2 separate regions of the Homo sapiens genome follow, and region 2 is linked to region 1. Evidence: promoter capture Hi-C in human tissues and cell types (Jung and others, 2019). All regions are on one chromosome and are shown on one strand. The core of a region is centred on a gene start or on the middle of the fragment in contact, and the rest is flanking DNA. Distances in the headings are between cores, read along the strand shown. Region 1 holds the start of NRROS (negative regulator of reactive oxygen species). Region 2 overlaps DLG1 (discs large MAGUK scaffold protein 1).

What was found. The method cuts DNA at HindIII sites, captures the fragments that hold promoters and counts their contacts. A contact is called where the count stands out against the background at its distance.
Region 2: a fragment that was not itself captured here is called in contact with the fragment with the promoter of NRROS in region 1 in 1 of the 25 tissues and cell types used here (lymphoblastoid cells).

Annotation. Positions count from the first base shown.
Region 1 is chr3:196,636,461-196,641,439 of GRCh38, reverse strand. NRROS (negative regulator of reactive oxygen species) reads right to left here and starts at 1,746. Exons shown (of 3, transcript NM_198565.3): 1 at 1,565-1,746. RefSeq lists an enhancer at 990-1,109 and silencers at 1,560-1,659, 1,680-2,109. The HindIII fragment of the contact is 16,873 bases long and covers 1-4,979 here.
Region 2 is chr3:197,187,566-197,192,454 of GRCh38, reverse strand. The region is part of intron 5 of DLG1 (discs large MAGUK scaffold protein 1); the gene reads left to right. Among named protein-coding and RNA genes, the nearest start is that of MIR4797, 100 kb to the left of the region's middle. The HindIII fragment of the contact is 5,025 bases long and covers 1-4,773 here.

The DNA of each region.
Region 1 (4,979 bases), core at 497-2,996:
AGTTTGAGACCAGCCTGGGCAACACAGCAAGATCCTGTGTCTACAAAAAAATTTTAAAAATTAGCTGGCATGGTGGTGTGCACCTGTTGTCCTAGCTCCTCAGGTGACTGAAGCAGGAGCATTATTTGAGCCCAAGAGTTTGAGGCTGCAGTGATCTGTGATCGTGCCACAGAACTCCAGTCTGGGCAACAGAGCAAGAGCCTGTCTCTAAAAATAAATAAATAAATATATATATTTTTAAAAAGTGCCTTCTTTGTGAAGCTGAGTTTGTTTTGTTTTGTTTTGTTTTGTTTTGTTTTTTTAACCTAAAGGCAGGAGTTAAGGTTTTTTCCTGGGCCCATGATTCTATAATCTCCTTTAGGGACTCTCGGGCACACACACACAAACCTAAGAGGTGTGTGAGGAGAATAAATACGTATTGTAAATGTAAAGCCCAGCAAACCCTCAGCATCCACAGAACAGTCTGTGTGTCACAGCCGGCAGGTGAGGAGCACACAGGAAAGCATGGAGGGCCACAGACGCTGAATGTTTCTAGCACCCAGACTCCTAACGGGCTGTGCCCATCATGAAGAAGCCTCCGGTGGGGTCCCCTCAGCCCCTAGGGAAGCACAGCAGCCCCGACCAGCCCTGTCCGGAGAGGCTCCATTCCTAGGACCCCCGATCCGGCCTCCTCCAGTCGCAGCCACCAACTGGCACGTGTCCACCTTCTCTCAGAGGCAGCACAAAGCCACACCAGTGGCTCCTTACTTCTTTCCGTCTAGCTCCTGGGTACGTGGGGAAGTACGCTGACCCCTTCAGAAGCCGGCCCACATGCAGGGGCCACGAGGGCTACGGAAGAGCGTCCGAGTCTTCGTCGCCCTCCTGTTAGTCTCCCTCTGATAAGCCATGGATCTAAGTCTAGGCTAAGATCCAAGTCACAGAGCCCCAGTGAATCTCCCAAGGACAAACGTTCTGTGGGAGAAGGGGCTTTGCACATTTTCACAGCTGTATCCCCAGGGCCTTGGACAGGCCTGGCACGTGGACGGCATCTGTGATAGGTGTTGCTGTTAACCAGTCTTAGTGTCTTCATCTATGAGATAGTGGTTCTCAATCCACGTTGTGGGACAGGAAAGGAGAGCCCAGTGCTCAGCATGCTGAGTGTGCACAGAGCGGTCTCATCATATCCAGTCGCCCAGCCCAGGGAGGGAGCATCTCTGTTCCCATTTTGCAGATGAGAAAACTGAGGCTCAGAAACCTTAACTGTCTGCTCACATGCTCCCTGCAGAGCCAGGACTCAAACCCACGTCTGAATCTGAAGCCCTCGTGGTTTCCACTACGTCGCACCACCTTTCTCAGCTCTAAGTGCTCCTGGAGGGAGGTATTTCCACCTCCACCCAGAGCTGCAGCCCCCACGCCCAGCACAAAAGCGGCGGCGCTTGGACGCAGCAAGCCACAGCTTCCTCGTGAGCCCTGAGCTGCGGGCCGCGGACGCTGACCTCCTACCACCCAACCTCGCTCGAGCTCGCCCACCTGGAGAAGGGCCCCGGCTGTGCCCCGGGGACGCCCCCACGCGGGAAATACTCACGGCTCCCGCAGGCGCAGGCGGCTGCGCGGGGCGCATCGTCTCCGGGGGCTCCGGCCTCCTCGAGAGCAGCCGAACGCGGGGCTGGGCTACCTCCTTGCTGTGGGGCATCAGATTATTTTAGCACCAGCGGAAGGAACGGACGGAAACTGAAGTCACATGGAGAGCGGGCTGCTCGGCGACTCAGCACAGGCTCACTCAGACCCGGCCTCTTAGAGGGAAGCGCGGCGCGGGCGCGGGGGTGGGGCGGGCCGGGGGAGCGGGGCCCGAACACCTGCCGGCCTAGCGGCCGAGCAGCGGGGATGTTTAGACGATCTTCCAGCAATGCGACCGAGGCTCCCCCGGCTTTCTTGCGTTGGTGCCTTGGCAGGGCTGGGGGCGGCCAGCTAGGGGCCCCTTGCCTATGAGGTCTGCTGACCCAGAAACTTTGCTACGAGCTTCCAGCCAAGGACCAAGCTGAGGCCGACTTTGGGAACGGCAGCACCGTGGTAAAGAGGCACAGCCTGTCGTCTGGCAGGGTCAGCCGCTCAGCCAGTCTGTCTTCTTATCCACTCAGCCGGTCCTTGTGGATCATCTCCTTTACGGACCCTGTGTTAGAAAGAAGGGGAATTGCTTTGTCGAGGACTGTCAGAGAGTGCCAAGAGCTTCTTGATCTTAGACTGCGCGGATGGGTTTTTTTGTACCTGATGTGTACAAAGTTCCCTGCCAGCTCTTGCCAAGAATTCAAAGGAGTAAGAATAATTGATCATATAGCCATCATTGAAGCAGCGCCAGACACTGTGCTAAGAGCTTCATATGCATTACCCCAGCGCTCCTGTTCTCGAGGAACTACTGTCGTCTAGAGAAGGTGAAATATTTACAGTGCCTGCTGCGTGTGGAGTGACGTGGACCACCATAGTCGGGGGCTCAGACAAGGGGCCTCCAGTTCTGATCTCTCTCACTCCCCTTCAAATCTGAAACGTTGAACTGTCCTGCAGGATTGGGTCACCTCTCTTATAGCCTGTGATTTGGGATTGTGTGTAGCATTGTCCATCCTAAGAGAACAGGAGCCAAGTCCTTTTCACTCCAAACATCTGGCACATTGTCTCTGCTTTCTACAATATTCACTCATGGCCGGGCACAGAGGCTCAGGCTTGTAATCCTAGCATTTTGGCAGACCAAGGCAGGTGGACCGCCTGAGTGCAAGACCAGCCTGGGCAACATACTGAGACTCCATATGTACAAAAAATTTAAAACTTAGCCAGACCTGGTGGCACGCACCTGTAGTCCCAGCTATTTGGGAGGCTGAGGTGGGAGGATCACCTGAGCACAGGGAGGTTGAGGCTGCAGTGAGCCAAGATCACGCCATTGCACTTCAGCCTGTGTGATAGAGTGTGACTCCGTCTTTAAAAAAATAAAAATAATTTTAAAAATAAAATATTATCTCATAATGGTAATAACAATCACACCAATGAAAAAGCTAAATAAAGATCAAATTGTTGCAAACCCAGGTGCTTGATTCAGGCCTCTTTCTCTCTTGTATGCACATTCTCTACTTCATGTCTTTTGTGTCTACCAATCAGTTGGTAACTCCCCAATTTTAATTTCTAGCTCCAACATTCTCTTCCACGAGAGAAGATCCAGACTTGCATTTTTAACTGTCTACTGGTCAATCAACTGCTACATGTCCCAGAGTCACCATAACATGATGTATCCCAAACTCAACTCTCTCTCTTTTTTTTTGAGACAGTCTTGCTCTGTCACCCAGGCTGGAGCAGTGGCGCAATCTCAGCTCACTGCAACCTCTGCCTCCCAGGTTCAAGTGATTCTCCTGCCTCAACCTCCCAAGTAGCTGGAATTACAGGCGCCCACCACCACGCCCAGCTAATTTTTGTGTTTTTAGTAGAGATGGGATTTCACCATGTTGGCCAGGGTGGTCTCAAACTCCTGACCTCAGGTGATCCGCCCACCTCAGTCTCAGAGTCCTGGGATTACAGGCATGAGCCACTGTGCCTGGCCCCAAACTCAACTCTTATCCTTTGTCCCAGCAGTTTCTCTCCTGTATGGCTGTCACACTTTACGGTATGTTTCAGCCCAGGCAGTCCAGCCCTCACAGACTTCATCCTTCATATCTAATTGACCCCCAATTCCTGCTGATTCTAACTCAGAAATGTTTCTGGAATCCAACCTGCTTTTCATCCTTAGGCTGTTGCCCTGGGTCTAGACCTCATCAGCTCATGTCTGGACCACTTTCATAGCCTCCTGAAACTCGCTCCCTGCCCCTAATCTCATCCCTGTCCAATGTCAACTCCACCTAGCTGCCACGGGCATCTTTCTAAAATGTGTATTGGGTCATCTCACTCTCTGCTTAAAGCCCTTTTACAGGGTTCAGCAGGTTCAAGGGTTCCTCATGAATGCCTAAAGACTGGCAGGTGGGATCCAGGTACCCCATTCCCTCCACATCCCAAGAATTCTACTTTGATATGTTTTATACATTGGGAGATTCTCTATAGAATTTCTTTTGAGAAAGGCAGCTGCTACCCCTAAAAAAAAAATCTAGTAAACCAATGGTCTTTTTTTTTTCTTTTTAATTCTTTTTCTTTCTTTTTTTTTTTTTTTTTTTTTTTTTTTGAGACAGGGTCTCACTCTGTTGCCCAGGCTGGAGTTCAGTGACGCAATCAAGGCTCACTGCAGCCTCGACCTTTGGGATCAGGTGATCCTCCTACCTCAGCCTCCTCAGTAGCTGGGACCACAGGCACACACCACCATGTCTTTTGTATTTTTGGTAGAGACAGGGGTCTCACCATGTTGTCCAGGCTGATCTCAAACTCCTGGGCTCAAGCAATCTGCCTACCTTGGCCTCCCAAAGTGCTGGAATTACAGGTGTGAGCCACTGCACCCGGCCCCAGTGCTCTTGATGGATGTGTAGAGACAAGCCAGTTGGTTGGCAACACCAGCAGCCCTCCCCTAGGCTAGCAGCACGCTGCCTCAGTGGGTGGAAGCCTGGACGTCCAGCTGAAACCAATGCAGATTTCAGCTGAAAGGAGAACGTGCCAGCACGGCTGGAAGCCCGACTGCACAGCTCAGCATCCTCCAACTTGGTTGGGCTCCCCCCTCACTATGCTTTTCGAGGCAGAGGAGACCAGGGTGCTTCCTCTCAGATGCAACCCTGGTGCATCCAGGCCTGGTTGCCCTGACCAAGCTCACCCCTCCACAGGATCATGAGAATTTCTGGGGGGCCATGTGCCTCTTGCTTTGAGCCTGCTCCACCTATTGGGGTGTTTGCTGTATTCCACTCAACAGGAATAAAGCAAGTCTAGTGTCAAGCAGCGCAGCAGCGTCTCTGATCCGAAGTGAAAGCAAGAACCCAGGCGGCTCCCGGCTGGAGGAGAAAGTCCATTCGGCCTGAGCTGCCTCCAGCCTCTCTTCACGACTACCG
Region 2 (4,889 bases), core at 1,012-3,511, 550 kb before region 1:
TGAGTTTATTCTGTTTTCTTGTTTTTCTAGTTTCTCAAGTCACTTGCTTATTGCACTAATTACCAGCCTTCTTTTCTAGTAGTATTCTTTTATAAATGTTTCTTGAAACAGCATTTTTAAATGTATCCCACAAGTTTGAATATGTAATGTTTTCTTATTGTATTTTTTTAATGTCTGATGTGATTTGTTTTTTGTTAGCCTCGTGAGTTACTTAGAAGCGTGTTTAATTCTTAAACATTAGAGACTATTCCTTCCATTTTGTCTTTTTTGTTTTTGTTTTTCTGAGACAGGGTCTTGCTCTGTTGCCCAGGCTGGAGTGCATTGGCAGTCATAGCTTACTGCAGCCCCAAACTCCTAGGCTCAAGTGATCCTCCCAGCTCTGCCTCCCAAGTAGCTGGGTCTACAGGCACATGCCATCATGCTTGGCTATTTTTTTTGTTTGGTAGAGACAGGGTCTTGCTCTGTTGCCCAGGCTTGTTTTGAACTCCTGGCCTCAAGTAATCCTCTTCCCTTGACCTCCCAAAGTGCTGAGATTACAGGTGTGAGCCACTGCACCTGGCTCATATCTTCTTTTGGATTGTATTTTCTCATCTCACTTTCCCTTATTACTAGCTTGGAAGTTAAAAATTGTTTCTCTTCCTTTAGTGGTTATTGTAGAAATTTTAATATATGTTTAACTTTTAAAAGTCTAAAGTAAATAAATGCCATTCACTCTTACTCCAGACAACATAAGAACCTCAGCACGGGTAAAGCCCTAACACTGCTTGTTGAATGTGCTGTTCTTGTCAGCCTGCTTTTATCTTGATTGAGTTAATCTAATTTATTTATTATTTTTGTCCAAAAACACTCCCAGGATATGTATAATTTTTTTATTTCTGATGTTTTGAATTTCCGGTCATCCTTATTGTTACAAACCAACCAAAGCCAATTTGCACATGGCCAACTCTGGTCTTTTGGTAGGTATTTTAGTAGTTATTTTGGTGTGTTTGCAGATTATGACACAAGCAGACATTTAAACAGTGAGCCAGCATGCATATTTTATGTAGCCTATTCTTTAAATCTCATGAAACCTCAGCTTTCCGTTGTTGCCTAAAATGCTCATTCTAAGCAGATAAAACAATGTTCCAGACACAAGATTTTGTTTACCCAGAGTCTCCAGATGTCTTAGGGATTAAACCTAAGGTGTTATCCCTAAGGGTTTAGGCCTCTCCAGAGTCTTCCGTTTCCCTTATGCAAGGGTGTATTATGTCTCTAAATTAATTCAAAAAATTCACATAACTGGGATGCTATGGATTTCACCAGTGAAATCCCATTTTGCTGATTAATAAGCCACTACCTTCATCAGTGAAAACCTACTTCATTATAATTGGGAAGACTTTTTGTGTAAATCAAAGATTAATATGACAAAACCCCCCTTTCTGTTGTTGTTTTGTTTTGTTTTGTTTGAGTTGAAGTCTCGCTCTGTCGCCCAGGCTGGAGTGCAGTGGCGCGATCTCGGCTCACTGCAAGCTCCGCCTCCCGGGTTCACGCCATTCTCCTGCCCCAGCCTCCCGAGTAGCTGGGACTACAGGCGCCCGCCACCACGCCTGGCTAATATTTTGTATTTTTAGTAGAGACGGGGTTTCACCGTGTTAGCCAGGATGGTCTCGATCTCCTGACCTCGTGATCCGCCCGCCTCGGCCTCCCACAGTGCTGGGATTACAGGCGGGAGCCACCGCGCCCGGCCGACAAAACCCTTTTAGCAGCCATCTCCGTATATGATTCTTGTAATTAAATGCAAGGTGATCAATCTTGGGATGTGAATTGGAACGCAGACTGGCCTTTGGGAGGTTTACAAGTTCTCCAGGTGTTTCTAATGTGCGGGCACAGTTGCGAAGCATTGTGCCACCACTATTACGGCTACTATAGTTGACCCTTGAACAACACGAGTTGGAACTGCACTGCTCCACTTATATGCGGATGAAACAAATGCAGATTTCAAACAAATGCAATCAAACATAAAAGTATTTGTAGGATGCAAAACCCAAGTATACAGAGGGCTGACTTCCTGTAAGTGCATAGCTGACTTCAGGACTTCAGTATGTGAGGATTTGGGTACAGTATGCGAGGATTCACGGGGGACTAGTCCTGGAACTAGTCCCCCGTGAATGCAAAGCTTGAGGTATTTTCCTGCACTACTGTGCTATCTGTGTTGAGCTATTAATATTTACAAGTAAACTTCTGACATCATTTGTCGAATCCTCCTTCTAGAGTGAGAGACTTAAATTGATAGTATTGAGAGAGAAAGCATTCATACTTTAAGATTTTCACTGCTTTCTTAATCTGATTCATTTCTTCCTTAATTTTCTGACCATAAGAGATGAGAAGTCAGTTTTTTGGTATCTGCTTTAAATTGCTTTTTCTTTACATATACTTGCTTTTTGTTTATTCTGACAATGATAAAGGATTATGTCCCTCACAGCTTTTTAAAGAAATATTTTATAGAGGCTTAAAGGAGTATGTTATTAATTAAAGTGTCCTTTATCATCAGTTCTAAGACTTACCTTTTCCACATTTACCATTTCTGAAATTGGTGGAAATCTTGCAGTTGCTGGCATTTTGTCATGGCCTTATCTGAGTGGCGATCTTTGTGTAGTCATATGTAAACCTTTCCTGACACGTTTTGTTAAGATCAAGAAAGTACCAGCATGCTTTCCTGAGTCTTAGGATATTATGATAATCATTCAGCTGGTTCTATGAGAAGCGTCTGAAAACCTGGCCATCTTTGTGGGCCATTCTCTTGCTCTGCCTTGTTCATCTTGTTCTCTTTTGTTAGGTATTAACAGGATCAGTCTCTGAAACAATTATAAACCATCCTCTGGGGTTCTTAAGTGAAACCACTAGTCCCCTTTCCCTCACTAGTCCCCTTTCCCTCACTTTGGTTTGCTGGCTGTCTGATTCATATTTGCAAACTGAGTAGATAAGGATTTTCAATCCCAGCAGAAAAAAATTGTGTGTATTCTCTATCATTTGTTTCTAAATCACACTTTAATATGTTAATGTTTTTTCCTATTGTAAACTTGTTAAACATATTTTCTTGTATATTTCCTGTGTAATATGATGTATCAAGTTTTTAAAAATTTAAACTTTAAAAACTTTAAACTTGATACATAATATTGCCTGATATATTTGCACCATAATTTGATGACCATGTCAGCTCTCAGATATCTGTTATCTCTATTTTTATTAGGTTTTGTAAAGAAACCTGCAATGAGTAATCTTTGGACATGAAAAGTATTTAGTTTCTTTCCTTTGGATGGATTACCAGAAGTCAGATTACTGAGTCAGAAGAATATGAACGTTTCTCAAGTTCTTGAAACTTTCTGACAGATTGTATTCTGATAGAATTGTAATTTAAGAATGATTAAGACTGTTTCGTTTGGGGAATTTCTACCTGCTTCCCCTCTTTCATTCCTAGGTTACTGTGGCAGATGCCACGTAAAATAATTATTTGAGGGGTGTAATAGATTTGGAGCAGGTGAGCATTATAGCAGAGTAGGTAGGGTTCCTTTAACTTTTTGTTAGAAAACCGGAATTGAAGGAAAACAACCCTTATTTTGACATAAGAAGGCAAGCTTTAATGCTTTTTCATCTTAATTTTTAAAAAACCAGAATGTTATAAGAAGCTCAACAATTTATTTAAAATACAGTGTCAAGTATTAGACTAGTAGTCTCTTTTTTAAAATAAAAGCTAATATAGAGAGCTTTTCCTCTTTTATAGTATTGTGGTTTGGAGTGAACAGCTGTTACGCTGCATGTAGAAGTCAGTATATGAATTATTATTTTATAATTTGAAAAAGTATCTTAGAATTAACAGTGGTTTGCTGAGTAGATTGTAAATTAGGCACAGCTTTAGTCTTCACAATTCTAATAAAAGCTAATGGTAAAAATAAAATTTAATAGATGCTTTAAAAATCAACTGCTAGGATATTAGTTGTGTCAAGCAATACATGCATTTAGCAAACAGTTATTAAACATCTGTGCTAGTAACTGTGTTAGACATCAGTGATTAGTATTTTTTTACGGAAAGATAGTTAACACAGTATGATGTGACATGAAAGAGGGAGAAATTAAATTCTTGGAGTTTTCTGAAAAAAGCAAGTTGACATTTGCATAAAGTGTTGAAGGATGTGTAAGATGCCAAGTCAGAGGAGGAGGCCGTTACTGGGGTAAATAAATACAGTGGAAGGGTGACAATCACAAGAAACTGTAGAAATGCAGGAAGGTTTATGTTATTATTGCTGATACTTAGGGTGCATGTTAGGAAATGAGGGCAAAATCTAAAAGACCTGTATGATGAATGTTCTTATGAAAGGTTTGCCACCATGAAACATGCCGTGAATTAATCTATTAGATTATTGTGGTGGTGGTGGTGGTGGTAGTGGATGGTGGTGGCTCTCCTTACTGGAATAATGAGTAAAGTAAGATAGTGATTGGGTTACTTTATTCAGGGCTTGGCATAAAGATAATTATGATTTTATAATTTAAGACTCTGAAAGGGATACTTTCTTGCCAGTGTTGGGAAGAATATCAAGAAAGAAATAGGGGATATAATAGTTTTTTAAAAATCTTAATGTCGAAGAGAAGGACACAGTGGGTAAATTTTGGGGTTATGTAAGAGTAGTGTCAAGGTTCTAAAACTGAAAATGAGCTGAGAATTAGGAAAAATTGTTAGAACAGTAAATCGAACAAATAAAAACCTCAGCCTTTTCCCAAAAAGTTTGAAATGTACATGAAGCAACAGGGAGGACAGTAGGAGTATTATTGAGTGTATGGGAGGATGCAGTGATCATTGAAGAAACAAGTAATTTATATTTGGTTTTTGTCTTCAATGGCAAGGAAAATTATGC